Regions from separate parts of the Homo sapiens genome. Here all the other regions are linked to region 1. Evidence: promoter capture Hi-C in human tissues and cell types (Jung and others, 2019). All regions are on one chromosome and are shown on one strand. The core of a region is centred on a gene start or on the middle of the fragment in contact, and the rest is flanking DNA. Distances in the headings are between cores, read along the strand shown. Region 1 holds the start of N4BP2 (NEDD4 binding protein 2). Region 2 overlaps APBB2 (amyloid beta precursor protein binding family B member 2). Region 3 overlaps APBB2 (amyloid beta precursor protein binding family B member 2). Region 4 overlaps NSUN7 (NOP2/Sun RNA methyltransferase family member 7). Region 5 has its middle 24 kb from the start of NSUN7. Region 6 has its middle 51 kb from the start of NSUN7. Region 7 has its middle 53 kb from the start of RBM47.

What was found. Contacts are between HindIII fragments. The study calls those that stand out against the background at their distance.
Region 2: a fragment that was not itself captured here is called in contact with the fragment with the promoter of N4BP2 in region 1 in 1 of the 25 tissues and cell types used here (spleen).
Region 3: a fragment that was not itself captured here is called in contact with the fragment with the promoter of N4BP2 in region 1 in 2 of the 25 tissues and cell types used here (H1 embryonic stem cells and thymus).
Region 4: a contact is called between a fragment that was not itself captured here and the fragment with the promoter of N4BP2 in region 1, in 1 of the 25 tissues and cell types used here (spleen).
Region 5: a contact is called between a fragment that was not itself captured here and the fragment with the promoter of N4BP2 in region 1, in 1 of the 25 tissues and cell types used here (aorta).
Region 6: a fragment that was not itself captured here is called in contact with the fragment with the promoter of N4BP2 in region 1 in 1 of the 25 tissues and cell types used here (lymphoblastoid cells).
Region 7: a contact is called between a fragment that was not itself captured here and the fragment with the promoter of N4BP2 in region 1, in 1 of the 25 tissues and cell types used here (IMR-90 fibroblasts).

Annotation. Positions count from the first base shown.
Region 1 is chr4:40,055,600-40,058,497 of GRCh38, forward strand. N4BP2 (NEDD4 binding protein 2) reads left to right here and starts at 1,251. Exons shown (of 18, transcript NM_018177.6): 1 at 1,251-1,431. It also overlaps the pseudogene LOC344967. RefSeq lists silencers at 463-672, 1,013-1,472, 1,523-1,872 and enhancers at 2,063-2,112, 2,213-2,312. The HindIII fragment of the contact is 26,276 bases long and covers 1-2,898 here.
Region 2 is chr4:40,883,106-40,886,003 of GRCh38, forward strand. The region is part of intron 12 of APBB2 (amyloid beta precursor protein binding family B member 2); the gene reads right to left. Among named protein-coding and RNA genes, the nearest start is that of NSUN7, 130 kb to the left of the region's middle. The HindIII fragment of the contact is 4,774 bases long and covers 1-2,898 here.
Region 3 is chr4:40,854,836-40,857,733 of GRCh38, forward strand. All of the region lies in intron 12 of APBB2 (amyloid beta precursor protein binding family B member 2), which reads right to left. Among named protein-coding and RNA genes, the nearest start is that of NSUN7, 110 kb to the left of the region's middle. RefSeq lists a silencer at 2,285-2,484. The HindIII fragment of the contact is 9,079 bases long and covers 1-2,898 here.
Region 4 is chr4:40,796,698-40,799,595 of GRCh38, forward strand. It overlaps NSUN7 (NOP2/Sun RNA methyltransferase family member 7), which reads left to right. Exons shown (of 12, transcript NM_024677.6): 10 at 2,090-2,207. Among named protein-coding and RNA genes, the nearest start is that of NSUN7, 48 kb to the left of the region's middle. The HindIII fragment of the contact is 5,844 bases long and covers 1-2,898 here.
Region 5 is chr4:40,724,103-40,727,000 of GRCh38, forward strand. No RefSeq gene overlaps it. Among named protein-coding and RNA genes, the nearest start is that of NSUN7, 24 kb to the right of the region's middle. The HindIII fragment of the contact is 4,923 bases long and covers 1-2,898 here.
Region 6 is chr4:40,697,824-40,700,721 of GRCh38, forward strand. No RefSeq gene overlaps it. Among named protein-coding and RNA genes, the nearest start is that of NSUN7, 51 kb to the right of the region's middle. RefSeq lists an enhancer at 688-1,461. The HindIII fragment of the contact is 4,986 bases long and covers 1-2,898 here.
Region 7 is chr4:40,680,960-40,683,857 of GRCh38, forward strand. No RefSeq gene overlaps it. Among named protein-coding and RNA genes, the nearest start is that of RBM47, 53 kb to the left of the region's middle. The HindIII fragment of the contact is 3,688 bases long and covers 1-2,898 here.

The DNA of each region.
Region 1 (2,898 bases), core at 1-2,500:
CACTTTGTCATGAGGTTATTTCGCTTCTCTATTCTGGGAAAAACCACTGCAAGTGGAATGAAAAGTAACCGCAAAGGGAGGGGACGGAGGAAGTAAAAAACAGGCAAAACCACCACCACTACCATCACCACCACCACCACCAACCAGAAAGCAAAGGTGAAAAATTTGCGTACCCTGAAAACACTAAACATTTCACATCAGAACCCAGAACAAATAAACCAGGGAAAGCAGAGTTGAGAGAAAAAAAATGGTGCAGGCTTGGGGACGGACTCATACTACAGCGGTCGCAAGAGGGAAGAGCACGTCTTTGCTTTTTCTTGGCATCCGAAAACTCAAGCTCGAACTGGGGGCAAAGGCCAGCGGCTGCGGTTCCACCGGCTAAGGCGCACACATTCCCCGAGCTCAGACCGCACGCTGGCAGGGCCGATGGGGCTGGGCAGCCTCCCTCCACCCCGTGGCAGTCGCCTACCCCTTTGTCTCCCCGTGGGGCTCCGAGGCCGCGCGCCCGGAAGCCCCCCGCGGGAGGGCCGCGCGCGAGAAGGCGGGTTCCCGTGCCCGCCGCAGCGGCCACGGCCCTAGTCAGGCAATGCCGAGGCCGGTCGCTCGCCTCGCCGTCCCTCCCAACTTGCAGCCTGGACCCCGCGCGCGTCAGGGCTCGTCCCAGCTCTGCTTTCCTTTCTCCCCTCACCTCGCGAGGCCGACCTTGTGTTTGTTTTGTTTTTTGGGGCTCGGGAGAGTGCCGAGGGCTAGAAACAGCTGTGGTTTACCGCGCCGCTTATTTTGGCAAAAATTCCGGGCCTGTTGCAATGTTCCCCAGCGCCAAACAGCTCCCGCCTTCCCCCCAAGCAGAACCCGACACTCGAAGAAGGGCTTGCTCCTCCAGGGACCCCCTGATAAGAAAAGTGGGGACCACGGCCCGCTCTCGGGCGAGACTTGGGGGGTGGGCGACCGGAAGCAGCCGAACCGGCCGGGCAGGGCTTGCTCTCCAACGGGAGAGCGGGAGCGGGAGAGGTGGGAGCGCCCGCGGGCTCAAGTCCCCCGGGCCGCCGCGCCGAGGCGGAGCTCGGGGACGAAGCAGAGGTCGTGGCGGACAGCCGGCGGGCTTGGGGGGGGGCGGTGGGCGGCGATCCACCTGGGCGACGTGGCAGCCATTGCCGGCGCCTCGAGACCCCTCCCCACCCGGCCGCCCACCCGCCCTCTCGCGGCGGGCTTCTGCGCGGCTGCTCTTCCCCGGCCGGACGGAGAGCGGCAGTGTCTCCCCGCCGGGCGCGCTCGCCGTGTCTCCCCCGCGGCCGCAGCTGCTTGCTAGCCTTGCGCGGCGCGGGAGAGCGCAGTGGCGCCGGCGGGAAAGGGCTGCGGACCTGCGGCGCCGCGTTGTGCGTTCGACGACGCGGCACCGGCTTCGACGCCCTCTGCCCGCTCCAGAAGCAGGTAAAGGCGGCGGGTGGGAGGCAGGGAGGCGGGTCCAAGGTGAGGGCCCTGGAGGTTAGGGGTCCCGGGGCTCCGAGCCGAAGCGGAGGGCCTGAAGCAGCGGCGGGCGGCGCGGCGAATGAACCCCCAAGCCCTGAATGTGGGGCCCGGCGCGGGCCGCCTCCGATCTGACCCGCGGGCCCGGCTGCCCGGACGGAAGGGAAGTGAGGCGTCGGCGAGAGGCGGGCCCTGGCGCTCAGCCCGAGGCCGGGCGAAGGCGGGGGCCGCGGCCGCTTCCTTGGCCTCCGAGTGCCTGGCGGGCCTCCAGGCCCCAGACACACCCCTCTCGACCCCCCGAGGTTTCCTCCCAGATCTGTTCCCGCCGGGACCTGACCTTGCGCCCCTCCAGGCGCCTTAGGTGTTTGCCAGGCGGAGCCTTCTGGGAACTTCAGGCCACCTTCCTGAGCACATAGTCCTAGCAGAGCCGTTTATTTACTCAGTTCAAGTCCAGACACACAGCCACTCACACGTTCGGATTTTGGAGACTGCGGGGAGACTTTCCCCTCCCCGGCATTTGTGTGTCTTTGGCCCTCGTCCCGCCTCCCCTGCCCCCATCTGCAACTTTGTCCCTCAATGGGACCCTTCTAGAGCCCCTCTCTCATCGGGACTCTCTCTAAGCCGTCCGTTTGGAAATTCATCCTCAATAGAGTGAGTCATCTTAGCGGGGGCACAGTTTATCTCTCATGCGCTTTTGGTTAAAATAGTTTTTTTTTTCCCTCCGAAAGAGAGCTAGAGTAATAGAATGTAGATGACAGGTCAGTGTCAGTGTTGGCTTCAAAGGCTCTTCCTTTCGGCGGCAGTCTTTGTAACTAGGATCTGATATTTGTGGCACGGACAGGTTTGTACACATTCTCGCCATGCAGTGGTTGTAATGTCTCCATGGCACAGTTCTGGCTTGAAGGCAGGATTGGCTGCTTTTTCTACTCGACATCTTTGAGCCAATCAGCAAGGGCTGCTTGCCTGGAGACTGGTTAACTCAGTAAAGGTGGCCATTGGTTGAGCTCCTAGAAGAAAATCCTGGAGATGAACCTAGCCTCTCAGAAAACAATGACTGATTTGCAGCTGTATTAAAAAAATGTTTTCTTTTAATCCCAACATCAGCCTTTTCACTCCGTTTTTATTACTTCCAGTGTTTTTCTTTCAAACACCAGCTGTCTTTTGTAACTCGTTTTAACTCTCATCCTTTAATTTTAACTAAAAGACGCGCTTTAGGAAATGTAAACATCGTGTGTTCTGTGTTTTGATAAACGTGGTTCCATCTGCCTTTCTAACATTGTTTACTGCTAAAGGTCAGAAATAAACAGTTTTGAGTTTCGCTGCCAGGACCTTTTATTATTTAAGTGCCGTGCTAGGATGGGGGGTAGGAGCGAGGGGCTGTAGTGGTGGACATGGTGGGAAGAATAGGAAATAAATGGCTGCTCTTTTGCA
Region 2 (2,898 bases), core at 178-2,677, 830 kb after region 1:
TGGCAGTGCCCACTGCAGCTGTGGCATGAGAACTAACCTCTGGCACTGAAGCCAGTGGACTGCAGAGTACTTGTGGCAGCAGCCTGCCCTATACCCTTTTATAATACACAGAAGGCTGAGGTGAGAAGATCACTTGAGCCCAAGGTGTTCAAGGCTGCAGTGAGCTATGATCACATCACTGCACTCTAGCCTGGGTAACAGAGCGAGACGGTGGCTCACACCAGTAATCCCAGCACTTTGGGAGGCCGAGGAGGGCAGATCACCTGATGTCAGCAGTTCAAGACCAGCCTGACCAACACGGCGAAACCCCGCCTCTACTAAAAATACAAAAATTAGCTGGGCATGGTGGCGCATGCCTGTAATCCCAGCTACTTGGGAGGCTGAGGCAGGAGAATTGCTTGAACCCAGGAGGTGGAGGTTGCAGTGAGCCGAGATCATGCTACTGCACTCCAGCCTGGGCAACAAGAGTGAAACTCAATCTGAAAAAAAAGAAAAACTTACTCAAGCTTAACTCTACGGAACAGTAGCAAGGCTAAGCCGTGCTTTCAGGGACCCCCGAATGCTGCTAGTAGAAGACATGGCTAGGAAGGGAGATAGAGACTGCCAAAAAAAAAAAAAAAAAATGGGCCCTTTCCACAACGACTTTCTATATACAGCAGCTACAAAGATCGCCTCGTTCCATTCTGAGTATGTTATTACTCAAATGTTCCTTCTATGAAGAGCTGGGCTGTGCTGAGTTCCCATATCTGGGTCCCCCGTTCTTTTTCTTAATGCTTTGAAAATGTGGAAACTATTCTCAGCTCATGGACCCACAAAAACGAGGCTCAGGAACATGGTGTGTCCACCTTTGCTTTCCATTCACTCATGTGGTCTTATCTCTTCAATGAAGAAGCCAGACTGTAAGGACAGGGACCATGCCATAGCCTTCTGTGTCCTGCTGCTGCCTAACATAGTATTTAGGACGTATCTGACCCAGCCTCTCCTCCCCTGCCAACCCCGGGACATTTAGACCATTCACCATCTCTTGTCAAGATGAACAGAGTAGCTTCCCATTTGGGCTGGCAAAAATACCTGGGGTGTGTTTTTTGCTCTGCCACAAACTACATGGGTCACCTAAGGTAATCACACTCTTCTGTCTTCAGTTTCCTAACCTCTAAAATAAAGAGACTGAAAGACACTAATACTAAAGCACCTTTTAAATCTAAAAACCTATGAGTCAAAGTTTTGCATATTCTAAATAATTAATCCCAATATTCCTCAGGATCCCTGAACTCCTCCACAAAATTAAGCAGTGTTTTCAAAAGAAGTCAAAACAAAGCAGCAGAACAGCACTGGCATGAAAACAAGAACATAAAGTACATGTGACAAAGGCCTTTTTTAAAACATCCTAACCAGGCACAGGGGCTCGCACCTGCTATCCCAGCACTTTGGGAGGCCGAAGTGGGAGGACTGCTTGAAGCCTGGAGTTCAAGACCAGCATGGGCAACAAAGTGAGACCCCGTATCTACAAAAATAAAAATAAAAAAAACACCTGTAGTCCCAGCTAACTCAGGATGCTGAGGCAGGAGGATCGCTTGAGCCCAGGAATTTGGAGGCTGCAGTGAGTGATGATCACGCCACTGTACTCCAGCCTGGGCAACAGAGCAAGACCCTGTCTCTAAAAATAAAAAGAAATAAAACAACTTGGGCCAGGGTCTTGGTGGATAAATACAGCTGGGAATACCTTAGAAGAGAATATGAAAAAAAATTCGGTACAGTGGACACTATATTCTTTAGACAAAAGTTCCTGAGATCATAATCAGATAGAACAATCAAGTCAAAGATAACCTCATTTGGAAATTTATGAATAATCTATGACACAGAAAGATTTTATTAAAAGTTGTTCATCAAAACCAGAAAAGAAAGGTATTAAACACCTTCAAGGAAGAGAAGTTTGGCTACACAATCTGTAAGCATAAGCAACATCACAGGGTAAACACTGAACCTGAATAAGAGAGCACTGTTTAAAAAGCACTGCACACATCATGACTGTTGATGGTTGTGTGAGAAAACATTTTAAATGGTCCATTTTCAAGGCATGATAAATCTAAGTCCTGGCAGCCAGGCTGCAAATGTAACAAACCACATGGCTCATGCACCTAGAAAGTCACAATAAGCTAACAGAATGTAGAGGAGGGGTCAGCCCATTAAAGGGAAGAAAGTTTTCTTATTGGGAAATGAAAATTAAGCGGGGAAGGGAATGAGGTATAACCTTATAAGGGGGATAATGAAACTTAGGTAATGTCCAGGAAGATTGTAGCCCCATAGTACTCGGCCAGTGAGGAATTGGGGGAGGGACTGGCGTGCTAGGAGATAAATTACCTGTTGTGACTGTCCCAGGTGTGCCTGCCCACCAGATACCCGATCTCGCAAGACTGTTATTAAAAAGTCTCACTTTCACTGTTCTTCGTGCCTCTAAGTCCATTCTTGGGGTTTGGATGGGTGAGTGTGTTTCTCATAGTTGCCATTCATTATGAAGAAATTTTATCTTCATTAGAGCAGGCCCAATGGGGTCTCCACTTATAATATTCATTAAAAGTAATTCCAATTTTTCTTAATAATCAAAAATAGCAGTTTAGTGTTGCCACGAATTTAAATGAATGAGTTTACTAATGACAGCAATATTTCCTGAAGTGTGTTCCATGTGATTGTGTTTCCACCGAGGAAACGGTCCAGCCAAGCCTGGGAAACGCTTTCTTGCAGAGTCCTAGTGCATCTCAGCGTAGGAAAACCTCTGAGAGGGCCCAGTGTACTTGGTTTAACTCAGTTTCCCAAGTGACTATAGAATCTTTTTTTTTTTCTCAAGGGAAAACCGTGGATTAATCACTGATAGGGAAGCCTCTTGGAAACATCCCATTT
Region 3 (2,898 bases), core at 168-2,667, 800 kb after region 1:
TAGGGGGGCTGTCCAAGAGGAAAGCTGTATAGGTGAGACAAGGAGGCTGCATGACTGATAGTTTTGTAACAAACTGGAATTACCCCATTGAAATCAACAATGCCAATGTTCAAACTCTTTAGAACTCAGCTCTGCCCCTCCTTGCAGCTGCAGGCTCCTTTGAGATCAAAGTAAGCAAGTTCAAGATGACCGACTTTAGTGCCCAATGGCCCACTGGTGTGATTAATACTTCCACCCTTGGAGTGCAGATGACCTGAGGCCCCTCGTTGTTTGCGCCTACTGCCACATGCTCAGCTGACCTCCAAGGCGGCCATCAGCAGCAGTATCTTCTTGTCTCACCTTGGTGTCATCCACACTGCTTCCCAGGGATGCTCCAGTGCAGAGAACCTGCAATGGGCCCCACGCCAGCATAGTGTGAGCTCCAAGAAAGGAAGAAGACACCTGTTGTATTTATTATGCCACTTAATCACCAGCACCAATGCCCAGCACATGGCAAGTGTCCAATAAATACTTATTAAATAAATTATCCCCATTGCAGAAAAGCTAGAACTAAACAACGTGGCGGCTGTTAGAAAAGTGTGTTTCTCACATCTGCAAAGTGAGAATGATAAAATGAGGCCAGGCATGGTGGCTCATGCCTGTAATCCCAGCACTTTGGGAGAACCGAGGCAGGTGGATCACCCAAGGTCAGCAGTTCGAGACCAGCCTGGCCAACATGGTGAAATCCCGTCTCTACTCAAAAAAACAGAAATTAGCCGGGTGTGGTGGTGTGCACTTATAGTCCCAGCTACTCAGGAGGCTGAGGCAGGAGAATCACTTGAACCTGGGAGGCAGAGGTTGCAGTGAGCCGAGATTGTGCCACTGCACTACAGGCTGGGTGACAGAGAGGGACTCTGTCTCAAAAAAAAAAACAAAAAAAAGGAAGCAAAACGGAAAGTAGGGTTCTTACTGAGCTACAAACCATGACACCTTCTTTGATAATACTGGCTGATGCTTTATGGAAAGTCTTTCCCCTCTTAAGCATTTCATTCACACTCCCTTTTACTTATAACTTTTACAAAATTACAGACCACATTTACAAACACATTCTGCTTCTAACTTCTTAGGAAAGGCCTCAGGACACTTAATAATTCCTTTCTGAACTCAACTAACTAAAAGGCAGCAGCAAGGATCTGAACTTTAGAGAGAATCTTACAAACTACTCTTGTGTAAGAGCTCGGCTGGAGGAAGGGCCAACTGCTCAATGGCCTAAGAAAACCTAAAAGAGAACAGCATGAGGAAAGCAGGCAGAACCCCCATTCATGATACAAGTCAAAGCCAGGCTGCAGCTGCAGTTATAAAAAGAAAGAAAAAGACTAATGGGATTGCCCCCTCCTTCCGCCTTCTCCCACCCAAGGCAGTAATGAAGATTCACAGCTACACATTAATTAGGAATCCATAGACGTGCCTGGTTACAATATTGGTATAGGGAAACAGATAATAGAAAAGGCACAGATTCCCCCACAAGCTAATAGAGTGTTGTAAGCAATATTTAAATCTTCACGCCTTTCTTTTCAAAAACACTACTTCTTTCTCAATGCCAAGAGCTGGCTGCGTTTCTACATTTGGGGAATTTGAGATATTTTCTCGCATGGAAGTCACACCAATATCCTAAATCGTGTAACTAAAATCATTTGGAAATGCACAGTTTTTCTACACGAAAGGATATTGCTTTTAATCCAAATACTGGATTACCAAAACCCTGAAATATCTTTCAGTCCTAATGTAGACAGGAAGACAGAAATGTGGCCTCACCAGGGGGCACGTGAGGCGAAGGCAGTCACTGCCTCAATCATAGAACGCTGTCCACGGCAGAAATGCCCCGTGCAGACCCCATCAATGAATAGCCCACCCCGAACAGTCCTGCTGCACTGGCGAATTGGGGGTCCAAGGACGCCTCCCCCCCATTTCATACAAGCCTCACTCCTTCTTCCCACCGGCGGGGCAGAAAGCCCCCTCTTCAGCCCTTCCAGCCGTCCAGGACCAGGCAACTCGCTAAGCGCTGACTCGGGGAAGGGAGGGCGCAGCCTTTGTCCCGCAGGTCTCCCGCGCCCGCCTCGCTGTCCCCGCGAGCGAGCTTGGGCTCGACCCCCGTTCCCCCTGAACGCACCTGCAAACAAAGGAGAGCCGTTCCTTCGCCAACTTCCTCACCTTTGCCTCCCGGTCCTTCCGAAGTCGGGCGGGGATGCCGCCCCAGGTGCTACGACAAGCCCCAGGGTGCCGGCACCAGCCAGCGGTGCCGTCGCTCAAGCAGCCGCGCGCACTGCCCCGGGCTCAAGTTGAAGAGAGCGGCGCCCGCGCCTCCCTGCGCCCTCCCTGCCCCGCCCGCCGCGGCCGCCCATTGGCTGCTGGGGAGGCGCGTGGCCCCGCCCCACCCGGCCGCACTCCCGTGAAGTGCTCCCGCTAGGTGCTCCCGCCAGATGCTCCAGCTGCTAGGGGACTGGCTCAGGGCCGGCAAGGAGGATCCCCCACCCCAACATACTCCCTTCCTGTAACGAACGTTTCCTTTTTGGACTCTCAAGACTTAGAAACTTCATTCAAACCCACTGAACCTCTTTAGAAAAAGTTGATGCTCTAGGCCTGCTGGGTTTCTGGTTTCTTTTCTTTTCTTCTTGAGACAGAGTCTCGCTCTGTCGCCCAGGCTGGAGTGCAGTGACACGATCTCGGCTCACTGCAACCTCCGCTTCCCAGGTTCAAGCGATTCTCCTGCCTCAGCCTCCCTAGCAGCTGGGATTACAGGCGCCCGCCACCATGCCTGGCTAATTTTTCCTATTTAGTAGAGATGGGGTTTCACCATGTTGGCCAGGCTGGTCTCAAACTCCTGGCCTCAAGTGAGCCGCCCGCCTCGGCCTCCCAAAG
Region 4 (2,898 bases), core at 258-2,757, 740 kb after region 1:
CAATTAACTCAAGAGGCCCCGACTCCAGGTCATTCCTCATCTCCTATACTCTGGTCTCCATAACTCTCTTCATATCCCTTTGTCCACATCTCTCACTCTGTGCTCTCTAGAATTTATAGTTCCTCATCAACAAAAATTCCCTATATTTTAACTTCTTTGAATGTCCTCCCCCTTTGTAAAAAATTCCTGTAACTTGCCTTTCCCCTGGGAACAGTGTTTCCTCAGTCTTTCCTCTCCTTCTTTTTTGAGCTATTGCCATCACACGTTCACTCCTGCCACTAAACTGAAACGGTCCTGTGAAGATCGCCAGTGATCCCCATGCTGTTGTGTCAGTTGCCAGCCCTGGTCTACCTAGGTCTGTCTGTGGCAGTTGACAGAAGTGGTCGCTTCCTCTCCCTTCACACACTTCCATCACTTGTCTTCTAGGGCACCACCTTCCAGGCCTTCTCTCTGGCCTCCCCTTCTCTGTCTCCCTTACTGGGTCCTCTCTGTCTCAACACCCTGTTTAACATGGGAGTGTGCCACAGTCCATGCCTTGGATCTTTTTTCTCTGCCTATACTTATCCCTTGGTGATTGTATCTAGTCTTATGGTTTTAAACACCTCTATGTGACTCCCAAATCTGTATTTCCAGTCTAAACTTCCTCTTGAAACTCTAAGCTTATATTTCCAGCTGCCTTCTTGACATCTCCACTTAGGGACTCATAGTCATCTCAAAGCTAACATGTCTAAGGTGGAAGCTCTGATCTTCCTCCCGCCATACTTGTTCCTCCCACAGTACTGCCATTTCAGTTAATGATAGTTGTAGCCTTCCACCCGCTTAGGCTAAAAACGTTAGCATTATCCATGATTTCTCTTTCATACCCACAGCCAGTCTGTCAGTGTATGAGGTAGGTTCTACATTCAACTTATATCCAGAATATATCCAGCTACCTCCACCACTACCACGGTGTCCAAACCACCATCACCTCACACTTGAATTACTGTAATGACCTCCTAATTTCTCTGCCAGCCTCTGCCCCTGCCCTCTGCACTCTATTCTTAACACAGCAATTGGAGTGATCTTGTTAAAACCCATCATAACCCAAGTAAAAACCTAAGCCCTTCCGGTGGCCCACAAGTCCCTGTACTATCTGGGGCTCAGACCATGCTTTCTGACTTCGACTTACTACTCTCTCTTCATTCCCTCTGCTCTGATCAAACCGGCCCCTTCACTTTCCTGGAACATACCAGCACCATGTTGACTTCAGGCCTTTACACTGGCTGTTCCTTTACCTTAGAATGCTTTTCTCTAAATAGCTCTGTGGCTGGTTCCTTATCTCCATCTAGTCTACCCACAGTTTGCCATCTCAACAATGCTTTCTCTCACTGCTCTATTTCACACTATTTCTCCTGGAACTCTCTATCCCTCACCCGGCTCTGCTTTTCTCCATAGCATTGATCACTTAACAGTACTATATAGTTTTCCTATTTATCTCTGTCTTACTGTCTTTCTCCTCTACTAGAAAGTTAGCTCCACAGGGGCAAGGATTTTTGTTTGTGTTATTGTATCCCAAAGCCTAGAACAGTGCCTGTCTGGCAGGTGGTAGGTGCTCAATAAGTATGAATCAATGAGTGAATTGCAGGTGGTAGTATTACCTCATTTTACGGATGAAAAATTTAAGACTTTAAGTAATTTGCCCAGGTTCATACAGCAGTAAGTGACAGAACTGGGATTCACCTCTAAGTCTGTCTGTTTCTAGAGTCCTTTAAACTATTTAGGCAATATCGCTTGTAGAAGAATGGGCAGAAGTATCAAGTTCATGGTAACCTGCAGTATTTATTTATTTGTGTTTATAACTAAGTTGGCCTCATTTTTTGTTGAATTTTCAATTTCCATACAATCCAGTTAGAGTGACTTTACTTACTGGCCACAGACTAAATTACTAAGACAAGCTTTTACTTTAAAGGGGAGCCATTCAAGCATCTGGGGAAATTATTCTCATCAAAACCATGTGGTATTAGTATCAAATAGATGTTTGGAAACATAGCACATTTGTATAGGATTGTTAATATAGTTGTTACAGTCATTGCATCTTCTTCTAATATAGTTACTAAAGCTCAAGCAGTTGTTTACTGCACATGTTCAGTTTTTCCAGAAGAAAATGAAGCTGTTGTTAAGAAAGCACTGGAATTTCAAGACCTTGGGAATAAAGGACAACCTTACAGGTAAGAAAAGGAAGGATTCTTCTAAACAACTCAAACAAATATTTTTTAAAAGGAAAAATATTATTTTCTAAGTTGTATAAAGACATTCTACTTTTTAAAATTATACTTTAGTATGATAAAATTGCCTGACTTCTTACAAATTTAACCAAGATTCCATAGGGCCTTTTTCTTTTTTTTTTTTTTTTTTTTTTTTTTTTTAAAGATGGAATCTTGCTCTGTCATCCAGGCTGGAGTGCAGTGGCACCATTTCGATTCACTACAAACTCCGCCTCCCAGGTTCAAGCAATTCTCCTGCCTCAGCCTCCCAAGTGGCTGGGATTACAGGCAAGTGCCACCACGCCAGGCTAATTTTTGTATTTTTAGTAGAGATGGGGGTTTTACCGTATTGGCCAGGCTGCTCTCAAACTCCTGACCTCAGGTAATCCACCTGCCTTGGCCTCCCAAAGTGCTGGGATTTAAGAAATGATATGGCTGGCCTGGTGCGGTGGCTCACACCTGTAATCCCAGCACTTTGGGAGGCTGAGGTGGGCACATACCTTTACCTCAGGTGTTCAAGACCAGCCTGGGCAACATGGTGAAACCCTGTGTGTTTAAAAAAAAAAAAAAAGAATATGATATGGCAAACGTGGAGGAATATTGATTTTATTTTAGGCAAGCCATGATTAATGATTAATCTATAGCATAAAAGACA
Region 5 (2,898 bases), core at 102-2,601, 670 kb after region 1:
GCCAGCCTTCCACTTCAGCCTCCTGAATAGCTGGGACCACAGGCACGCACCACCGGACCCAGCTAATTTTTCTGTATTTGTAGAAATGGGGTTTCACCATATCACCCAGGCTGGTCTTGAACTCCTGAGCTCAAGTGATCCTCCCGCCTCGGCCTCCCAAAGTGCTGGGATTACAGATGTCAGCCACTGTGCCAGGGGCAAGTCAACATTTTAAAACCTGTCTTACTTAAAAAAAAAATTTTTTTTAAATAAATGAATAAATAGGCCAGGTGTGGTGGCTCACGCTTCTAATTCCAGCACTTTGGGAGGCTGAAGTGGGTGGATCATCTGAGGTCAGGAGTTTGAGACCAGCCTGGCCCACATGGTGAAACCTCTTCTCTACTAAAAATACAAAAATTAGGTGGGCGTGGTGGTGGGCACCTCTAATCCCTGCTACTCGGGAGGCTGAGGCAGGAGGATCACTTGAACCCAGGAGGCGGAGGCTGCAGTGGGCCGAGATAACAACATTGCCCTCCAGCCTGGGTGACAAGGGCGAAACTCCTTCTCAAAAAAAAAAAATAATAAAAGAATAAATAAATAAAACCTGTCTTACATAAAATATTTTAATTGCCTCTATTCAAAATCTATCTTTTAGTTAAGACTTTTTTACATTTTTAGTTTTTGTTTTCAGAAATATGTAATGAAAAGTAATAGTAAAAAAAAATTGACATTATTTTAAGGTAAAGATACATCTTCCATCTCCAAGGCTGCTTTATGAATTGTAATTGGAAAAAATAGCTGATCAAATAATCTTTTCCCTAAATATCGTATTTAACATTAATTGAAGTCTATGAGGTACTAGGCACAATGCTAAAACTTTTATCTACATTGCCTTAATTAAAACCCAGGGCAACCCAGCAAGATAGGAAATATTATTATCTCCATTTTGCCGATGAGAAAACTGAGACTGAGAGATTAAATGACTTGTCCAAGGTTACATGGCTAGTAACTAAAGATCAGAACCTAGGTTGGTCTCTGACTACAGAATCCAGAATCCATTATGTTCTTTCCGGGAAAAAAAAATTAATGGTCAAGTTAAATGGTAGCTTGATCACATATTGTCTACTCTGAAAAGTAGCATTAAATTCTGTTTTTGTTTTTGCTTTTGGTTTTTTTGAGACGGAGTCTCACTCTATCACCCAGGCTGGAGTGCAGTGGCGCGATCTCGGTCACTGCAACCTCCGCCTCCCAAGTAGCTGGGACTACAGGCGTGTGCCACCACTAGCATGACTAATTTTTTTATTTTTAGTAGAGATGCGGTTTTGCCATGTTGGCCAGGCTAGTCTCAAACTCCTGACCTCAAGTGATCCACCCACCTCAGCCTCCCAAAGTGCAGTGATTACAAGCACTGTGCCTGGCCACATTAAATTCTGTTTTAAATGTTTACAGCAGCCGGGTGCAGTGGCTCACGCCTGTAATCCCAGCACTTTGAGAGGCCAAAGTGGGCAGATCCCTTGAGGTCAGGAGTTCCAGACCAGCCTGGCCAACAAGACAAAACCTCCATCTCTACTAAAAATACAAAAATTAGCCAGGCATAGTGGTGGGTGCCTGTAATCCCAGCTACTTGGGAGGCTGAGGCAGGAGAATCACTTGAACCCGGGAAGCAGAGGTTGCAGTCAGCCGAGATCACGCCATTGCATTCCAGTCCGGGGACAGAGTGAGACTCTGTATCAAAAAAAAAAAAAAAAAAAAAAAGTTTACAGCCTTCAATTTGATTATCTCTTTGATAATAGAAAAATATATGTAAGCTTCACAGAGCCTTGCATCATGCTGGCCTTATGGTAGATAACCTATCAAAATGCTCATCATATTGTCTTACAAATGGTAAAGGCTTAATAAATATGTGCTCATCAGTTATGAAAATTATTTTCTTTCTTTTTTTTTTTTTTGAGATGGAGTTTCGCTCTTGTTGCCCAGGCTGGAGTGCAACGGTGCGATCTCAGCTCACCGCAACCTCTGCCTCCCGGGTTCAAGCAACTCTCCTGCCTCAGCCTCCCGAGTAGCTGGGATTACAGACATGCGCCACCATGCCCAGCTAATTTTGTATTTTTAGTAGAGACGGGGTTTCTCTATGTTGGTCAGGCTGGTCTCGAACTCCCGACCTCAGGTGATGCGCCCACCTCAGCCTCCCAAAGTGCTGGGATTACAGGCGTGAGCCACTGTGCCCAGCCGAAAATTATTTTCAATTGGACCAATTTTGTTGGAACCACCAGCAGTTTCTTTCATTCCATTATTCATAAATTGCAACTTTATTTTTTTCCCCAGGTTCACATGAGGACGGTAAACAATTTCTAATTTTATACTTAAATTTTAAGCCAGGTAAATATATGCTATATAATAGCATTACAAAGGATTGCTCTGATGTCACCTGCATGTTTATAAATTAGATGAAATTAATTTTATTGGGTAGTCTATAAGGATTTGATTTCAACCATACATTCTCACTTTTTACTCTTACAATTTTTTATTGAGTTATAACTCCATATGCCATAAAATTCAACATTTTAAAGTATACAACTCAGTGGTTTTTAGTATATTCACAAAGTCATGCAACCATCACCACTATATAATTCCAGAACATTTTTTCATCACCCCCAAAAGAAATCCTGTATCCACTAGGAGTCACTTTTCATTCCTCCTTCCTACCATCCCCTGGCAACACTATTTACTTTTTGTCTCCATGGATTTGCCTATTTGGGACATTTCATATAAATGAAATCATACAGTAGATGGCATTTTGTGTCTGATTTCTTTAACTTAGCATGATGTTTTCAGGGTTCATCCATGTTGTATCATGTATCAATACTTCATTCTTTCTTATAACCAAATAATATTCCATTGTATGAACAAACTACATTT
Region 6 (2,898 bases), core at 282-2,781, 640 kb after region 1:
CCTGTGTTACCAGAGGTATATTAATTTGTCTAATACTCTGTTGATATCTTTTAAAATTCAGGAGTTGTGCTGTTCAATATGGTATGGTGGCCCAGCCACATACGTGGTTTAAATTTTAAATTAATTAAAATCAGATTTTAAAAAAATGCATCCCTCAGTTCTGATGTGAATAGTGGATACCACAAATATAGAACATTTTTATCACTGCAGAGAGTTCTGTTGGACAGCCTACCTCTCACATCTCCCTCGTGCTTTGATGTATCTTCTGTTTCTGAGGAGGTATCTGCAACAGGGTGACAATGACTCTGTCAATCACCTTTCTTTCAGTGCCTAGTTTGTGTCAAGCAGTAAGGTAGTAAGAGAGTATCTTATATATGTACTTTTTTTTTTTCGAGACAGGGTCTCACTCTGTTGCCCAGGCGGGAGTGCAGTGGTGCGATCTCAGCCCACTGCAACCTCCACCTCCCAGGTTCAAGAGGTTCTCCCACCTCAGCCTCTCGAGAAGCTGAGATTACAGGTGCATGCCACCACACACAGCTAATTTTTGTATTTTTAGTAGAGACAGGATTTCACCATGTTGGCCAGGCTGGTCTTGAAATCCTGACCTCAAGTGATCTGCTAGCCTTGGCCTCCCAAAGTGCTGGGATTACAGGGGTGAGCCACTGCGCCTGGCCTTATGTACATATTATCTTATTTAGTCCTCATAGGATTCAACCATGAGTCAGCTCAAGGAGACCATTCTATAAGATCATTGTAATAAATCAGAAATCTGATGACCATTAACTCAGATTTCCACCCCCATTCCCTACTCAACAGGCAAAATGTAAATTGGGCTACTCTGCCTGTGGGATGGCCCTGCTCTGTCCATGGAGCAGCCAAAAAAAAAAATATGTCTATATACGTCTAAACATTTTTAAAAATGTAAATTGGTCTCAATCGCATCAGATCATACAGAGCCCTTGAATGCAAATAAAAGATAATTCTTGTTAGTGTGGCATCTGTGTCTTTTCAGAATCTGGAGGGCTTACAAGTTCAATGACCACAGGGCACTAACCCTGAGGCCTAAGGCAGCCAGGGGAGATTCAAATCTGGAGCAAAACAATGCATGGGCTTAGTGTTCTTTACTGAGGAGGACTTTACTCTTTATCATTTAAATTATAACAGCTTTAATCTATCCCTTAACAAAAGGTCTGCTTCAGGAAAGTATACACACAAACATGTATATGTGAGCATACAGACACACACACAGAGACAAGAACAAGATGGGAGGGGTTTGTTTTTGTTTTTGTTTTGTTTTTGAGATAGAGTCTCACTCTGTCACCTAGGGTGGAATGCAGTGATGCCATCTCAGCTCACTACAACATCCGCCCCCTGGGTTCAAGCGATTCTCCTGCCTCAGCCTCCCGAGTAGCTGGGACTACAGGCCCGCACCACCATGCCCAGTTAATTTTTGTATTTTTAGTAGAGACAGGGTTTCACCATGTTGGCCAGGCTGGTCTTGAACTCCTGACTTCAGGTGATCCGCCCGCCTCAGCCTCCCAAAGTGCTGGGATTACAGGGGTGAACCACCGCACCCAGCATCTCAAATGTATTTTGAATTAGACTTAATAAATATATCTATATATGTTGGCCTAATCTTTGGTGGCTAAGAGTAACTGACAGTTCCAAGAGATGCAAAAAACTGCAAAATAAAAGGTGATTCAAAATAACTTCATGTAAGAAATATTTTGAACATTAAAAAATGATGAGCAATTTATTTTTGTCAATAGGAAAACAATTTCTCTTCACTCCCACTAACAGTAAATAAATATTTAAGGAATATTGGTTTGAAATAAAGACACTAAATTAATAATACCTGGGATGCTCTCATGTACTAGCTCGGCCCTAGAGATAACTATGTTTACTGCCATTTTACAGATGAGAAAACTGAGGCTCGAAGAAGTTAAGTGCCATATTTCTTGGGTAATCAGTGGTAGAAATTGAAACTTGGGACGAATCTACTCAAGAATTCCATTCTGACTCCCTGTTGGGTAGACTTGACTCTGACTCATCTTTCTCTGATTTTTGTGGTTGAAATTCTGATTGAAAAGAGAATGTTAGAACATCCATTTAAAAACCTGAACTTGTACTTGAAGGAAACAGCTAGGACTTTTTTTTTAAGATGTCGCCCAGGCTAGAGTGCAGTGGTGAGATCTCAGCCCACTGCAACCTCCTCCTCCCGGGTTCAAGCGATTCTCATGCTTCAGCTTCCCGAGTAGCTGGGATTACAGGCACTGGCCACCACACCTGGCTAATTTTTTGTATTTTTATTAGAGACAGGGTTTCACCATGTTGGCCAGGCTGGTCTCGAACTCCCGACCTCAAGTGAGGAGGTTTTACCAAATTCATTTTAAAGATTATACTTCAATTGATGAAAAACAATTAAATTGCTTTCATTTATTTAAAAACTTACATAGTACTCAGTTCTGCCATTGTAGTGTGAAAGCAGCTACAGAAAATACATAAACAAATTAGCCTGTCTGTGTTCCAATAAGAACCTTATTTATGGATTCTGAAATTTGAATTTTATATAGCTTTGCATGCCACAGAATATTAGTCTTCTCTTGATTTTTTTTCAATTTGTAGATATAAAAACTATCTTTAGCCCACTGGCCATATAAAAACAGGTGGTAGGCTGGATTTGATGTTCAGTTCTTAGTTTGCCACCGCTAATTGTAGAGCATGAAATCAAAACCTGGAGAAATGTAGGAGCTTGCCTAAGAATATGGAAGAATAGGACTATGCTCCATTTTTTTTCTGCTTGCTAAGCTTAATGGGTTGTATTCTATTATAAAGAAATAAGTCTGGGAGCGGTGGCTCACGTCTGTGACTTTGGGAGGCCAAGGTGGGTGGATCACT
Region 7 (2,898 bases), core at 232-2,731, 630 kb after region 1:
CCAGAAGTCAATGGAGAAGAGGTTTTTAAATTTTTTTTGAATTTTTACTGTTTTCCTCCCCTGTGCTAAAAAAATAGCTTTAAAAATTTTCAAGCAACCTTATGACAACATGCTATTATCAGTCCCATTTTATAGATGGAGATAAAGATGATGAAACTCAAAGGTTAAGTAACTTGCTCAAGGTCAATGGAGCTGCAAAGGGCAGAGCTAGGACTTGGATCCAGGCATTCTGGCTCCAATACATCACAATGTACTGCTTCACTCCAAAATAAGACAAGATGGCAAATGCAGCAAGGCTGTCCATGAAGCTGAGGATAGAAAAGTGCTTACTGGGGCCAGACGCAGTGGCTCACACCTGAATCTTAGCACTTTGGGAGGCTAAGGTGGGTGGATCACCTGAGGTCAGGAGTTCGAAACCAGCCTGGCCAACATGGCAAAACCCTGACTTTACTAAAAATACAAAAATTAGCCGGGCTTGGTGGCTCATGCCTGTAGTCCCAGCTACCTGGGAGGCTGAGGCAGGAGAATAGCTTGAACCTGGGAGGCAGAGGTTGCAGTGAGCTGAGATGGCACCACTGCACTCCACCCTGGGTGACAGCGAGACTCCATCTCAAAAAAAAAAGAAAGAAAAGAAAAAAGAAAAGTGTCCATTGGATTAGGCAAAAGGGCCACTGGTAAGCTCAGAAAGAACTCACAGTAATAAACAATAGGTGCTAATTAACTGTTCAACAGGATTGGTTCCTGGCCTAACTGGTCTTTGGGGCCAGCAGTGTGCCATACACATGGCACCTCTCAGCCCTGGCTTGCATTGTCCTCGTTGGAAACCTATTCCAGGTTTACGCTCTGAAAAAGAGCAGGCACATTCCCTAATGCCTTCAGGGAAAACAAGACCCAGCGCTCCAGCTTCCTGAAGTGTATAAGAGAAGTGTGACGTGCCTGTTTATAACCCAGCAACTATACTCAGGCATAGACTTAGATGCATTTGAACATATCATCAACACAATTACCTGTACCCAGATTAGCCTCAGCAAATCTTTAAGCTCTCACAGCTGTCTTCAGGTGTTCAGAGGATTATTATGGAGAGATGTTGATCAGCTGTTCTCCATGTCTCCTGTGTAGAGAACAAAAGGAAAGAAGCTTAAATGTCAGCAAAGGATTTAGATGTAAGTGAGAACTCTGTGAGGCAGGGAGGTCCTGTGTATCCAAGCGTTTCCAACCTTTCTGTCTTATTTAGCTCTAAATATTCCCTTCTCCACCATGCTGCTTCTTATGTTTATTATAACAACGACAATGACAATAACAATAATGGCAAACGCTTATATAGTTCTTACTTTGTGCCTGGCACTGTTACTAAGCTTTTTATTCATATTCATTCAATACTCACAGCAACACGATGACATAAAGACTATTGTCATCCCCATTTTATAGGTAAGAAAACTGAAACAGAGAGAGAGTAAAGAACTGGCCAAAGGTCTCACAGTCAACAAATGGCAGAGCCAAGATTTGAAGCCTTAGGCCAAAGTCCATCGTCTTAACAATGACCCTATGTGCTAATCTGGAGATATTGTACTAGAACAGAATTCAAGATAAGGCAGAGCATGGAGAAATGCTAATAAATTGGCATGGAGGCTGTAGTAGATTGTTACAAAATGGCCCTAAAGGAACCATGCCCCTCTGAATTCACCCGTGTGTCCTCCCCTCCCACGCAGGATCCGTACCAGCAAAATGACTCGCCTGAACCACTGAGAGGTGATGGGACTTCAAGCCCAGATCTTAAGAGATCTAGAGCTTTTGCTTTCTCTCTGAGAACCCAACTGCCTTGTAAAGAAGTTCAGGCTGTCCAGCTGTAGACAGCAGCAACGTGGAGAAAGAAGCCTTGAAGGTTGAGTCCACATGGAGGAAAAGAGAGGCATCCCAGCTAAGAGCCAGCACCAGCGTGGCAAAGGAGGCCATCTTGGATGCTTCGGTCCCAGTTGAACTGTCCCAGCAGACACCATATAGGGCAGAGATGAGCTGGCCAAAATTCTAACTCGAAAAGCGTTGTGGTTTTAGGTCCCCAAGTGTTTTCTTCCTTTTTTTTTTTTTTTTTTTTAGGCAGAGTCTGGTTCTGTCGCCCAGGCTAGAGTGTGGTGACACAATCTTGGCTTACTGCAACTTTGCCTCTTGGGTTCAAGTGATTCTCCTGCCTCAGCCTCCCTAGTAGCTAGAATTACAGGCGCCTGCCAGCATGCCCGGCTAATTTTTGTATTTCAAAATGTTGAAATTAGCCACCAGCCTGGATAATTTCAGACCAGCTGTTGCCCAGGCTGGTCTCAAAATCCTGAGCTCAGGTGATCTGCCCACCTCAGCCTCCCAAAGTGTTGAGATGGCAGGCATGAGCCACTGTGCCTGGCCCGTGTTTCTTTTTTATTGTGGCAAAATGTACACAACATAAAATTAACCATTTTAACCATTTTTAAGTGTGTGGTTCAATGGCATGAAGTACATTCACATTGTTGTGCAACCATCACCACCATCCATCTCCAGAACTTTTTCTTTTCTTTTTTCTTTTTTTTTGAGACGGAGTTTCACTCTTGTTGCCCAGGCTGGAGTGCAATGGCGCGATCTCGGCTCACCGCAACGTCTGCCTCTGGGGTTCAAGCGATTCTCCTGCCTCAGCCTCCCTAGTAGCTGGAATTACAGGTGCCTGCCACCACGCCCGGCTAATTTTTGTATTTCAAAATGTTGAAATTAGCCACCATCTTGGCTAATTTCAGACCAGCTGTTGCCCAGGCTGGTCTCGAATTCCTGAGCTCAGGTGATTCACCCACCTCGGCCTCCCAAAGTGTTGAGATTACAGGCATGAGCCACCATGCCTGGCCCATGATTCTTTTTTATTGTGGCAAAATGTACACAACG